2 separate regions of the Homo sapiens genome follow, and region 2 is linked to region 1. Evidence: promoter capture Hi-C in human tissues and cell types (Jung and others, 2019). All regions are on one chromosome and are shown on one strand. The core of a region is centred on a gene start or on the middle of the fragment in contact, and the rest is flanking DNA. Distances in the headings are between cores, read along the strand shown. Region 1 holds the start of GRM8 (glutamate metabotropic receptor 8). Region 2 overlaps GRM8 (glutamate metabotropic receptor 8).

Region 1 (6,749 bases), core at 2,436-4,935:
TAAAGAATCTTTCCCATGACTCCTGTATGCAGGTATGAGTTGACTGTGGAAGTGCAGAACACACTCATTCATGACATTGGTGTCATGAATCTCATTGGCTCTATCTGACTGTCAGTCTAACATGTCTGATCTTGCTTCTAGCAGCCAGTGTCTAATAAACTGAGCAAAACCCACATGGTACACTCACTGCCATGTGCAGATGGTCTAGCAAGAAAAATATTGTCTTCGTTTCCAAAAGAAACAAATCCCATTCCCACTTTCCCCTGTCAGCTTTGCTCCATGTGGGAGCATCATGCTGTCGATATTTCTCTTGGGTGAGTAGCCTGCAAAGGTTCTCAGCCTTAATGATTACTCCAAAGCAGGAATTGTGGCATAAATCTCCATGTGTGGAATATGTATCACAGCTTGAGTTAAATGGACCCCAAACATATGGCATTGTTTTTTGCATTTTCTAACACATGGGCAGTTTCTCACATTTTAAATCAACTGAAAATGAGAAGATTATAGGCAAATCTTCCTGGAGGATTAACTACTAGGAAATATACTTGGTTTGAATAAACATTTGGGGTGGGATGGAGGATGAGGTCAGACACTTTCCAAAGACACAGTGTGTATTGCAGAGGGTGGGATCCCAAGGGGAGGCAAGGTGGATGACTCTAGAATAAGCTGCATGTCTGGACGGCCTGGTCTTCAGACACTCTCCCCTGACTCAGATTGCAGCAATGAGCAAGCAGCATCATGGTGTTTGGCCCTGACGAATAGAGGTTGTACAGCCAATAACTTTTTCCTGTGAATGTTACTGATAAGGACCAGTCCCTCCTGGAGACAATCTTTCTTCCTGTGTCCCAGTGTTGCTATCAGTCTGGGCGAATTATAACCTGTACATGGGCAAATTATAACCTGTACAGAAGGCTGTGTCACTTGCTCAGGGGCTACTAGATAAAGCCATTGGAAACACTGAAGAATATATAGAAGGGCTCTATTTCTTATTGACCAGATTCCATGTAGGATTTGAGTGATGGTTCTATTTTGAGTATCAAGAGTTAAAGATGATGCAAAACGAAGCATCGGACTTGCACTTTCCTTAGGAGAGATCAAGTCTAGTTTTCTCGCAGAAGGCTGCACCAAAAAGGGCAGCGATGTGCCTGTAAGACATCAGTTCTCTGCAGGTAATGATCAATAGGGAAAGGAGAAAGGCAGCTCATTAGGCATTTCTTCCCCAAGAGGCTCACTCGGCCTCCTTAGGCTTCCAAAGCCACAGCCAGCCTTATTGCCCTTATTATTAAAATGGGCCCACTAGAGCACCAGGCTGCTGCCCTCTTGGCTCATGCCAGGCAACGACCCAACTGGCCCTGCAGCTGGCCTCTAGCCTACCCTGAAGACGATGTGTGGTCAGCAGTTGTCGATGCCCAACGTATTTGCGGGCCTCCTCTGCCTTTCCCCTCCGTCGTGTCTCTTTTCCCCTCAAATTTATCAATGCACACGTAGTAAATGGTCTAAAACGGACTTATTCATACCTCTACGTTATCTGTGATATCATTGCTCAGACCGGGATCATGGGTCTGGAGTTTGGGGTGGAGTGGGCTTCCTGCTATAGAAATCAGGCCACTGCACTTACTTTACACTTCTGGGGGAGGAGGGATCTCTTCCAGTCCCTAAGAAAAGAAAATCTTTAAAGCGTCTTACACGCAGGCGTGCAACCAGGAAGTCCACCCAGCCCCATCTCCGCATAAATTAGGAGCTCTTCCCTCTTCCCACCTTCCTTGTCCCAAGTGGCACCGGACACTGATCACCCTCTTCAGAGCTGCACTAGACATTCACAGGGAATTGAGGTTCCCTATGCAGAAAGGTTTTCAGACAGAGGACCCAGCCCATTTTCTCTCTCCAAATCCTCCTCCCTCCCTCTTTTGTGGTTGCAGCTATAAAATAATGATTCAACAATCAAAGAGCCTCTCATGAGATGGGAGAAGGAAGGGAACGAAAGGGGAAGAGGTGCCCTGGGCTGAAAACCTGTAGATTTTTTCTAAGTGACAAAGGGCAAGGGTCCTTTTTTGAAATTAGGAGAGAGACAGCTGTTTCCTCAATCGAAACTTCGCACATTACAACCAGCCTTGGGAAAAGCCAACACCACCAGGGAGGAAGTGCTATGGGGTTTTGAAGCCAGACACTGATTTCTGGCTGTAATACTTTCCAGCCGTGTCTCTAAGCCTCGGCTTCTGCCTCCATCTGTAGAGTGGGCTTAATAATTTTGACCATCTCACAGAGTTGATGTGAAAATTAAAATAACCCGAACAGAACAGGCGATATATACAGGAATTAATGAAAGATTCCTGACATAATGCTTATAAGTTCATGATGCTTAGGAAGATAAAATTCATTGTAGAGATGCCGAACGGGGGTCTAGAGCTTGCCTTTTCGGGGTCTCTCCCGTCCTTCTCCATCCTCCTTATCTCCTGGGCTGCCCCCTCTCCCCCCGCGCCCCGCTCTCCCTGGCTCGCCCGGGCCTAGGGCGCCGCCTGCAGTTGCGCGCGGCCGCCTCTAGATGGAACTTTCTCACCAACGCAAGGCCCGGCCGGAGCAGCTACCCGGGAGCTGGGCGGCGAGGGGCTACTTTCTCTCATTCCGGCGGGTGCAGGATCGGGGGGCCTGGGCAGTAACTAGTGGGGAGGAGCGCTGGACTGTGCACGTCGAGCCCGGCAGGTTTCCGCATGCGGCATGCGAAGGGAATCCCGAGGTTTCCCTGCAGAACCCGAGCACGGCTCCCCCGGAGTTTCCTGCCCCGCGTCTGCGGCTCCTTGAATCATCTCAATAAAATGACCGTCCCGGTAGCCACCCATGCCCCTTCCTGCGCAGTGCCCGCAGCGGACCGCGCTGTGTGGTACCTCGAGCCCTGGGGACTCTGTTGCACGCGTCCCTCAGACCCTCGGGGGCGGGGAGTGGGGAGACAATCGCCAGAGCCGCGGGGCGGGACAAATGGCGGAACCGCCGCGCGGCGCCAGGCAAACTTTGCAAGGGAACCGCGCGGCTTGCCGGCTCTACTTTAAGCATTCCCGAAAAGAAAGCATGTGGCGGGACACTTGTCATCTACCATGTGTTATTCTCGGTGACGCTTTCTGGAGCTGTGTTCACCGGGGACCCGGGCTCGCGGGTGCTGCCCGCTGTGCTCGGGCGGGCGTCGCGCCTCCCCGCGCCGGTCCCGGGCTCGCCAGGCAGCCGGAGCCGCTGGGCTCCTCCACAACCATATTCCTTCTTCTACCGCTCCCGCTTCTTCCCACCCTCTCACTCTGTAGTTGGGTCCTCCCCTTTTTCTTGGGGGCGGGGAAGGGGGGATGATTTTTAAAAATCAGAACTATTGACATTTCTGGTCTCCTCGTCGCTTCAGGCTGAAGAGCGGAGGGGGATCCGCGGGCCGAGGGTCCCCCTCCCTGCCCGCGCCAGGGCCGCTGGGTGACACCGAAATCCAGAGGCTCCCGCCCCTCGGGGGTTCCTCCTCCCGCTTCCCGAGGTGACTGGTTGGCGCGAAGCGATTGGCGATCCCGGGCGCGATCCTGGCCGCGGCTCCCCGCGCCGCGCCGGGTGAATGGCCGCGGGCGGAGGATCGGGAGGCGCCGGGCGCAGACCAATCGCGGCCGCCGGTGGGAGTATTTGTTATTCACATGGAAGAGACTTGGCGCCTGCTAGGCCAGCTCAGCCCCCTCAGCCCAGAGATCAGCCACAAGTGCGGCCGCTGTGCTCGCCTCACGCGGCGGCGGCGGCGGCGGCGGCGGCGCTGACATGGAGCTGCGGGCCCCCGGCGGGCTTCCTCACCGCGCCCTCTGCGGGGAGCAGGGTAAGACTCGCCGCCCGGCAGCAGAAAGCGGCTCCGAGGAAAGCAAGTGCCGAACCACGGGACAAAAAGCCCCTGGCCCCCAAACTTCCCCAAAACGCCCTGCTTGTTGGAAAAGGAGAATCCCCCCGTTTTATTCCCCTTTCCGTTTTCTTCTCTAAAACCTTTCAGCGGACAGCCAGGTGCACCATTCCTTCTCATATCACTCTAGTGATTTGTTTTTCCTGAGCACAAGTAGATGGCCCTGCATGTCCGTAGTCTGTGAGAGAAATAGCGGGCGGAGGTGACGGGAATGGGGGGAGAAGGAGAGTGGGCACCAGGGGGCGAGGGGCTGGCCGGGCATTGGAGCTTGATTGGGTGTCTGTTGATTTTACGTTGCAAAGAACAAGGCAGCCACCCCTCTTGTCTGCCCATGATTACATTACAGTAAAGAGGTTCAGAAAAGAGGGAGACTTTACCCGGAACTCCCAAGGCTTGGAGATGTGATCCCCCAAAAGTTTAGTCGGCGAATGGGAGACTGAAGGGTGACGGGAAGGGGGCAGGCGCGCTCGGCGCTCTGACTGGGCGTGCGGCGGCAGGATTTTAAAGCGCTCTGCCTCGGATCGTCTGCCCTGGGTGACCTCCCGGACCTGCCCTGGTGGAATCCGGACTTGCCCCGCCGAGATGACGAGGTACCTTCGTTTCGCGAACCTAACAGGAGGGATTTCTGAAGTTAGCGGCTTCCGGGATGAGTCGGGGTAACCCCCGCCCTCTGAGCGTGGGCTGGATGGATGTCTAACCAGGATCTAGGGAGGATGGGGGTCGCGGGGGAAGCCGGGCGCTTCGGGGTCCTCGACACCCACATCCCCGCACGGCGCACGCTCTGCCTCGAGTTTGCGTTCTCCGAGTTAGCACGGCGAGCTTGGGATTTCCGTGCCCCTCTTTTGTGGCTTTCGAGAAACGCCGGAGTTCCGTGTCCTGCTGGGGGTTGGGGGGATGGAGAAAAGGTCTCGGGGATCTTGTTTAAAAAGCAAAGGCAAACGCACCCCAACAGCTCCTCGGTAGCTCCCGCGGCTGGCGCGGCCCCAGTTTCGGGCGGCCCCGCGCGGGGCGTGGGCGCGGGCGCTCGGGCGGCCAGGTGCGGCGGGGGCGGAGGCTGCATCCCCAGCGCGCCGGAATGCCCCGGGGCGCGGGAAAGGCAAAAGCAGCCTGGCGCTCTCCCCACGGCCCCAGTCTCTATCTACCCAGAACCCGGCTTCAACAGCCCAAGGAACTGAGAAGAAAAAGGAACCTGCGCTGGGAAACAGGGGCTCCTGGCGGGCTGAGTGGTCGCTGTTATGGTAGAGATAGAAACGGAGAGGTAGAGATGGACCGCTCAGCCATGCCAAGCGCGAAGCCCATCCGCCCAGCCAGAAAGCTCGGATATCCCTTGAGCTTCGTACAGTTGGTGAAAAAATAACAGAATCACCAAAAAAGAAAAAAAAATTCCCTTCGTCTGACACGCGCTCCCTTGGTGCAAATGAAATGCGGAGGGACACGCGAGTCACCCAGTTGCGCAAAACCGCACCCCCGCGGTTCCCTGGGGAATTACTTCCCCCGTGGCCCAAACTGTGAAGCCTGGTGTCAGAGAGTGTCTGCGCACCCAAGATAGCGGGGGTGAAAACAGACCCCCTCGCCGGTTGCAGAAACCCTTAAGTCCCCTAAGCAAGTCCCACCCCGGGAGGGAGTGCCTTATTTGCCATTTGGGGGATCCTTTCCCACAAACCTGAAGGTGCGGGAGTCTCTGGAACACCCAAGAATACACTAGAGTCTGGGCTACTACCGCGATTGAATACAAATCCTGCCAACTGACAGAACTGGAAAACAGGGTTGGTGGTGGAGATACAAGAAAAATCATGAACGGGAGAAAAGCATTCCTATGGTAGCTTGTATTTTGCTTGAAAGAAAAATAGAGAAAAAGAGCCACCAGCAGGTAGATCGTGGATAAACAGCTTATTGCACTTGCCTGTAATTTCCACTTTCCGTTATGAAATTGTTTGTCAATAATTGCAAATGGCTACAGAAACCACTTTAGTTTACCTTGGTCACTTGCTTGTGAATAATACCGTGAAAGATCTCTGTAGGAGGCAGAATCAGCTGTGTGCAATTCATTCTCTGGTTCTTGAAAACGTGTGGCTTGATAATTTTGAAAAGAAAAGCTTCCTCCGTCAGGGAAAATGAACCAAGGTTTTTTAAAATGCAATTTTTCCATTTTAGAGTCAACTACAGGTTGTACCATGTCTAAGATAGAGAATTCTTGCTTTTGAATAAGGGATGTGGGGAGAAATAGATGACGGGAGGCTTTGTAGGAGACAATTGACCCGGAATAAAGAAGAAGATACTGAGAACACAGCTGTATACTGTTCCTTAGGCTCAATTTGTTCTGTTTGGATTGTGCTAGCTAGTTCTGCCCTGTTATGCACCGTTCGAAAGTTATGGCTGCTTGAATAATTCTAAAAACATCTACATCCAAAAGGAATAGAGAAAAGGAAGAGCTGAGCTCCAGTGAGTGCAGGAGAAAGTTAGAGGTCTGGAGAGATGTGCTCTTTTCAAAGTTGGCTGAGCAGGTTGAAGCTGCTGCGGGGCTTGTTTAATTGGTATTTATGCAGCAAATAACCCGTCTGACATTCACATTGGCAATTGCGTGCCAATCTTTGTGTATGAATGTTCCATTGTCTTCAGGGCACGATGTACAGCACACTACACACATGTTTTTTTCCTTCCAAGTTTCCTTCCTACCACCTTTCTCAGGTAGTTAGAATGCCCATCATAAAGATGACCTTGCTTTAGTTGGGGGGAGTGGAGTTGCTCTGTCCCAGTGTCTTAAAAGAAGATGCTGCTTGAATTTCTCTCTTCCTGGACCCACAGCCAAGACCTGGCCACATCTCCATGTCTGTCAAGTTGG
Region 2 (7,528 bases), core at 2,734-5,233, 100 kb after region 1:
AAGTGACTCTTTCAAGTCACCACTCTCCCCACTTCCGCTTTCTCAAAAAATGACTTTCTACTACTTCACAGAGGAAGTGGAAGATATCTGACCCATACCATCACAACTTCCTCCAGACCTTTCAGCCTATAGGCTAATTCATCATGTGTCCCTCCTATCAAGGTTTCGGCTGTGGTCTGGATTTGATCTTCTACATTCTCATACTCCTTGTGCTATCAATTTTTTTATAAAATTCCTTTCCCCTTTACAACATTTCTGACTGCCAGGGACACCAGGATTGGACTTGTACTAGCTTGGTATAGCACTTGGATTAGCTGTAACTTCTTGCCTGCAGAAGTGCTTCTGATGGCTGTGAAATATGCCTTTCCTGTGGACTATAAATAAAAATGAGCTTCACACTTCATTAATGAATCCTTCCTCTCAATGTCCCAAGTGGTCCAAATGCTAAAGATACAGTATTTCACAGCAGGTTGTGTAATCATTTATGTAATATGCCCTTTAAGTAATTGGGTTATGGTCTTGTGACTAATGTACCCTGATATTCACGTTGAGAAAATGGGGAGGGTGTTAAATACTTTAAGAAAATGAAGAGCTGTAAGAATTTTGTGATTCATGCAAATAAGATTGACTAATTTGTTCTACAAATGGAATGCCTATGATTTAATTTTGACTGACAAGTGGTTCCAAACTATTAAGAACATAAGTAATATATAACAGTTGAACTGTAGTCCTATGAAACATGTCTGAAAATTATTTTTATTCATGGTTTTACCTTTTGGTAAATTCCTTTGGTGATCTTTAGATGGTTTTCTCCAAGTGTCATCAGATGCATCTCCAATTTAAAGAAATAATCTCTGTATCATAATACCTACACTCTTGTATAAAGAGAGCTCAAAACAAATTGGCAAAGGAAGAGTCACCTAAGGACACTAGGCTGACCTTCCCCTGGGATCAATTATTGATTACTGTGGAGATAAACTGAAATGAGATTAGCTAGTCTGCTGATTCTCATGGAATTTGCAATCCAGGTTGAGTGTCTTTCAAAGCAGAATGAAGTTGTTAATCAGGTTGGTAGAATATTTCCTTTGCCATAGATACTCTCAATCATGCTTATATTTGGATTTTAGGGAAAACCATATCTAGTATTTCTTTCTCACTTTGCTACCTTCACCTTCTCTGCCCTGTCTTGCCACTTTTGCCTGTTAACCACCACCACCATCATCCTGTATGTCATAGTTTGGATTTCTGTATTGTGCCAAGTGCTTTACCTGCATTGCTATATACCCTTAGACCAGCTCCTGCAAGGTGATTGAAATGAGGAAAATGAGTTTCAAAGAGGTTAATGAACTTGCTCAAGTTTACTCACTAAGTGATAAAACTCACATGGGAACTAGGCCTGAATGACTTAAAACATATGCTCTGGCCCCTTCCCACTCTGTCTGTCTTGCTGTCTTCCCTGTCTCTGTAGTTTCTCTACTCTTTGTTCACTTTTCCCTAAGGTGGCAGGAAGTGAAGGACAGATAGCAGTTTCCCTATTTTCAACACTAAAAATAAACATGAAAATTCAACAATTGGCAAGTGAGAAATCGTAAGTAACTTTAAAGGGGACTAGGAACATCTAATATTAACTTCTTTTTTTAATCTACAGAATTAAAGGCTTTGGAATGCAAAAGAGAAACCTACAAAACCTCAGAATATAGACTATAATCTACATTCAGTAGTTCCAAGAGAAGAAAAGTGTAACATCTAGCTTTCTAACAAGCTCTCAAGGCACATAATATCTCTTCTTTAGATTTGTATTCTGTAAAGTACAAGTCCCTAGGCCTTTTATCATACGGAAGAGATTTTTCTCTGAGATTCTCTGTAAATACACAGGTTCAACTTTTGATACATCTCTGTGTATTTCTTAAAATCCCAGTAGAAAGCCGTAAACTCAGGGGCTCAAGAACTCTGTGAGGACGATAATGATAATGAAAGGCAGATGTTGCAGCGTGACTGAACAGCATCCCGATCGCCTCCTATGTGAACTGTAGAAAACGTTGTTGATGATCCCCTTAATTTGACATGGCTTTTCACAACCATCCATAATTGGGTTTTGGGGTGTTTTTTCTTTTATGACACAAACAGATCTTTGGAAGAAATAAGAGGTCCTTAGATAAGAAATGGTAGAAATCCGAGGAAGATCCATGGAAGAGATAAGTTGCTTTTTGCTAGTGGGAGATTTGCTGGAGGTGGTTGGTCTGTATGGTCAAGAACCACAAGAACCCTTAGGTGGTTGAGTTTATTGAAGTGTGTCATGTGATTTTCTCTATGGAGGTCAAGGCTGGAGAAGGATCTGGAATAGCATAACCTGTGAGGACTAAAAACATACCCTCTAGGCCAGGTGGAGAGACTTTTGGAGTATAGAGTCTCCAGTGCTGTCCTAAGGAGGCCTGACCTCCTACAGAGTCCTTGTGTACCAAGGAGCCAGGCAGCCACACACTTAGCGATGCCAGCATATGTTGTTCCCCAAGGAAGGAAAGTGCTTCATTTCTGCTAAAACCCAATGTGTATAGCTAAAACCTGTTGTTCTGCTAAAACCTGATGGGTACAAACTGCAAAAAACAAAAAAACAACAACCTTCTTAAGACAGCATTTCATAGACTCACCATGATAGCAATCTTGTTTTTGAGGCAGGGCTTACCTACTTCAGATACAGGTGTGTACTAACATCTGGAGGGTTTCTCTAATTCTGGGCTTTATGAAGCCAACCCAAGGGTCAGCTGAGAATGGTGGGCCCACACTGTGTAATAAGACCCATACAGACTCTACTCTCCTTGAACAGAAGGAGGCAGTAGAGCATAGAGGTTGAGGACAGAACTGGGAGTGGGATTCATTTTGAATCCCATGCCATCACTTTAAGTGGTGTGTTTGGGATGTGACTTTTACAGTCTTTCTGTTTTTTTCAGTTGTCCCGTCTGCAAAATGGGAATAATAACACTTATGGTCTATTATAGTCGTTGTCAATGAGGTAGGTAGAGTGCTTAGTGTAGCACTGGGCACCACCAACACTGAGTGCAAAAGAGAGCCAGTAGGGCTTTGATTTAAATTTCCAGTTTTTCCCCATTAAGACTTTGGACAGCCTGATGCCTTTGTCTTCTTTTCTGGTCAGGTTCTGGTGGCTCCTGGCTTCTACAGAGCCCTCCTGCATGTCCATGTGCTCCTGTTCCACTGTCTTGAGAACAGCCACTGGTTTCAGTGACCAGCCTCCTTTTGAAGTCCCTGCCATTGCAATGCCTCTGCTGTCAAATACCAATTCATTAGCAATTGTTTTCCAGGAGGCAGAATTTTTCTTTCATATGAGCCCTCCATTCTATGCCTGTCTTCTTTCCTGTTTCATTGAGGCAAGGGAAATAGAATTTTATTTATTTATAAAATAAATTGTATTGTATATATTCAAGGTATAAAACATGTTAAGGGATACATGTGGATAGTAAAAAGGTTACTATAGTGAAGCAAATTAATGTATCCATTATCTCACATAGTTACCCTTTGTTTTTGTGGTGAGAGCACTCATTTAGCATGAATCTCATATAGAGTACAATTTTATTACCTATGACCTTCATGTTGTACATTAGATCTCTAGACTTCTTCATTCTACATACCTGCTATTTTGTATCCTCTGACATACATTTCTTCATTCCCCCACCCTGACCCCATAACCACTGTTTTGTTCTCTATCTCTGATTTTTTAGATTCCACATGTGAGGTCATGTGATTTTTTTCCCCCGTGTCTGCCTTATTTCACTTAGCCCTCTAGTCCCATCCATGTCGTGGCAAGTAGAATCTTGTTCTTTTTAAGACTGAACAATATTCCATTGTATATTTGTACCACGGTTTCTTAAGCCATCTGTCCATTAGCTGACACTTAGGTTGTTTCCCTGTCTTGGCTGTTGGGAATAATGCTGCAATGAACATGGGAGTGCAGATGTCTTTACAAAGTGGTGATTTTATTTCCCTTGGGTATATGCCCAGAAGAGGGATTGTTAGGTCATATGGTAGCTCTATTTTTGATTTCTTTAGAAACCTCCATATTCTTTTCCATAATGGCTATACCAGTCTGCATTCCCATCAATAGTGTATGAGTTCCCTTTTTCCATACCTTTGCCCACATTGGTTGTCTTCTGACTTTTTGATAATAACCATTCTAATGGGTGTGAAGTGGTATATCATGGTGGTTTTGATTTTCATTTCTCTTATGACTAATGGTATTGAGTATCTTTTCATCTATCTATTGGCCATTTTTATGTCTTCTTTGGAGAATGTCTATTGAGGTCTTTTTAAAATTGAGTTATTTGTTTTCTACTATTAATATATGAATTCTTTATACATTTTAGATATTAACTCCTTATCAGATATATAGTTTGCAGTATTTTTTTTCCCAATCTATAGGCTGTCATTTCATTTTGTTGATTGTTTTCTTTGCTGTACAGAAGCTTTTTAGTTTGATGTAGTCTCATTTATTTTTGTTTTTGTGGCCTGACCTTTTCATGTGATATCCAAAAAGTCATCAAGGCCAATGTCCATGAGCTGTTGCTCCTTCTCTTCTAGAAGTTTTATAGTTTCTGGTCTTATGTTTAGGTCTTTTATTTAGAGTTGATTTTTGTGTGTGGTGTAAGATAAAGGTCTGATTTCATTCTTTTCCATGTGGAAATCCAGTTTTCCCTGCACCATTTGTTGAAGACTCACCTTTCTCCATTGTTTTCCCTTGGTGCCCTTGACAAAAATTACTATGCTGTGTTTGCATTGTCATTTGTCCTAAGTTATTTTTAAGTTTTCCTTTTGCTTTCTTCTTTGACCCATTGGTTGTTTAGGAGCATGTTATTTAATTTCCACATATTAGTGAATTTTCCAAGATTCTTCCTGTTACTGATTTCTAGTTTCATACCACTGTGGCCTGAAACAATACTGTATATGAGTACAGTATTCTTAAATTTGTTAAGATTGTTTCGTGGCCTAACATATGGTCTATCCTGGAGAATGTTCTATGTGTGTTGAAGAAAAATGTGCATGTATTATACTGCTGTTGGACAGAAATTTTTGTCTATGTCTCCTAGGCCCATTTGGTCAAAAGTGCTATTCAAGTCCAGTATTTCCTTATTATTTTTTTTTTTTGCTTCATCTATCTATTGTTGAAAGTGGGGTATTGAAGTCCCCTATGATCATTGTATTGCTATCTATTTCCCCGTGTCCATTATTTGCTTTATGTATTTAGGTGCTCTGGTGTGGGGTGCATATATATTTACAATAGCCATGTCCTCTTGATGAATTGATCCCTTAAACTTCTTTAGTGGAAAAGTTGCTTTCTAATTGGTGGATTGGATTGGGCAGAAGTAGAGATACCTGAATCGACTCTGTTGCACCCATTTAAGAGATATTCCTTGTAGAATATTTCATGCCTAGTATGGGGAAGGTCAAGGCTTCTCAAACTTTATCATGTCTACAAATCACTGGAGGCATCTTGTTAAAATACAGAATCTGATTCAGTGGGTCTAAGGTGGGACCTGAGACTCTGTATCTTCAACAAGTTTCCAGATGATGCTGGTTCAATGGCAAGGGGATGGGCCACATTAATGTGTTGAAGAGTTGAGTTCGAAGATGGGCAATAGTAGATAGGTTATCTTTTCAAACAACAAAGCTTACCGTGCTCTTCTATACTAATTTTTATTTATTTAACTCATTTTAAAGCTGCATTTGAGGCATCAATAATTTTACAAAGCTCTAATATTCTTTCTCTGGGTAAACAACATAAAAACATGGTAAAGTCTTGACATATAAGTGTAAAAGGATTCAGGCATTATAGATGAAAGGAGAAAACAGCAAAATTGGGTTGCATTAGTTACATTGGTTAATTCTGAAAAGCTTCTAAAAAGAGGTGTTTTGAACCCAGCTTGAAAGATATGGCAAATGTGGATTAGAGGATATTAGAAATATACTAAGTTAGTATACTTGTACAGGGCAGAAGGTGGAATTAAGCCTTAGGGACAGCTGAAGCAAGGTGAGTGGGGGGATAGGAGGGAATTTGCCCAAAGCAGAGACCAAGAGAAAACTGCAGCTTATTAGTAGTTAGCAGAGAAGTACCCAGCCAAGCTTGCAGAGAGCATTACGAAAGGGTTTAACAATATGTATTAGGAAACAAGGTCCTTTAAGGTAAACTTGAGCTTCCCACTCTCTATCAGTGGGGCCTGTCAGAGGACCCTCATCCACAGCAGTAGGAAGCATTTTTACTTTCTGTACTTTGGCCGGAACATGTTTACTTTCAGCTTTGCTTGGTTTGGTGGTGGGGTTCAGACTTCTTGGGAAACATTGATTAGCTCTCTGAGGCTTTCTGTGGCTGCCCAACTTTCATTCATTGGACCATTCTTTTGTAAATTCAATATTGTTGAATCTAGTGCCTCTATGTCTACTGAACCTCATGCTAAAGGTGTGATAATTGCATATTTGCAGTTAAATAGCAATAGCAATAATAGCACACACAAATATACCATCTAACTTACGGAGAGATGCTTTCCTAATGCCTACCAAAGAGCTTCCTACGCTGTGAGTAGACAGTGGTTTTAGGTGATTAGTTTCTGTTCCCCTTTTATTTCCCTAAGCAACCCCCTTTTTAAGTTGGAGATCCTTTCTTTGAGTTGAAGAGGTGACAGGGGTCATCTTTTAGGTCATGGAAGATCCTCTCAAGAGGTATGGGACTGCAGAGGTGAGGTGGTGTACAGAGTTACTGTAAGATGAATGACTACCAAATTTTAATGAGATTTTTGAGTAAGTGGAGGTAAACAGAGGGATGTTTGTGAAGGGGAGGGGATTAGTAGCCTTAGCTGTGTCCTACTAGAGCTGATACTCATCTTTTGTGAAATATCTGGATAACTGAACTAAAATATTCTGTTTTGATCTTGCAGATTAAAACAGGAATTTCAAGACCATATGTCCTGGTTCTCATATTCTTCAGAATTCTCAGTTGGGAAAAAACACTTACATGTCCAAAACTTGGAATTTGTTGTCTCTGAGTTTTCCTGGGTTTGTCCCTGGGTTTCCCTTGTTTCCCTGTTCCTCTATCTCCTGGAGCCATGAGACCCCCACACTGTTTTTTCTGAGGCTCACTTTTGCCGTGGAGAGCAGTTGTGAGTCTCTTCAAGCCATAGCTCTGGGAACCACAGTTTTCAGAAATTGCCATGCAAGGGACCATAGAATGCCACAAGTATCTCCTACACTCTCTTCAGCGACAGAGTGCCCCTGATGTAGGCTGTATTTCCTTAGGGTCTGCATGCCTTTTCTGAATGATTCTGAAGGGGAAAATATAACAGAGAGGCTGGCTACCCTATGAGACCTATCTATATTACACTTAAAAAACAAAGCAGAGTAGATTAAAAAATAGATCAGTAACTTTTTAAACTTCAAATCTGACTTACTAAATACACAGAGTATTTGTCTCCTGGACATGCTGTCTCAATACTGGCTGTGGCTCATCTTAGTATCCTCTCAGGGCCCC

Evidence for each region. The method cuts DNA at HindIII sites, captures the fragments that hold promoters and counts their contacts. A contact is called where the count stands out against the background at its distance.
Region 2: a contact is called between a fragment that was not itself captured here and the fragment with the promoter of GRM8 in region 1, in 2 of the 25 tissues and cell types used here (aorta and bladder).

Annotation. Positions count from the first base shown.
Region 1 is chr7:127,249,877-127,256,625 of GRCh38, reverse strand. It overlaps GRM8 (glutamate metabotropic receptor 8), which reads left to right and starts at 3,685. Exons shown (of 11, transcript NM_000845.3): 1 at 3,685-3,829. RefSeq lists a silencer at 2,418-2,477 and an enhancer at 2,598-2,847. The HindIII fragment of the contact is 12,389 bases long and covers 1-6,749 here.
Region 2 is chr7:127,146,043-127,153,570 of GRCh38, reverse strand. The region is part of intron 2 of GRM8 (glutamate metabotropic receptor 8); the gene reads left to right. Among named protein-coding and RNA genes, the nearest start is that of GRM8-AS1, 65 kb to the left of the region's middle. The HindIII fragment of the contact is 4,065 bases long and covers 1,951-6,015 here.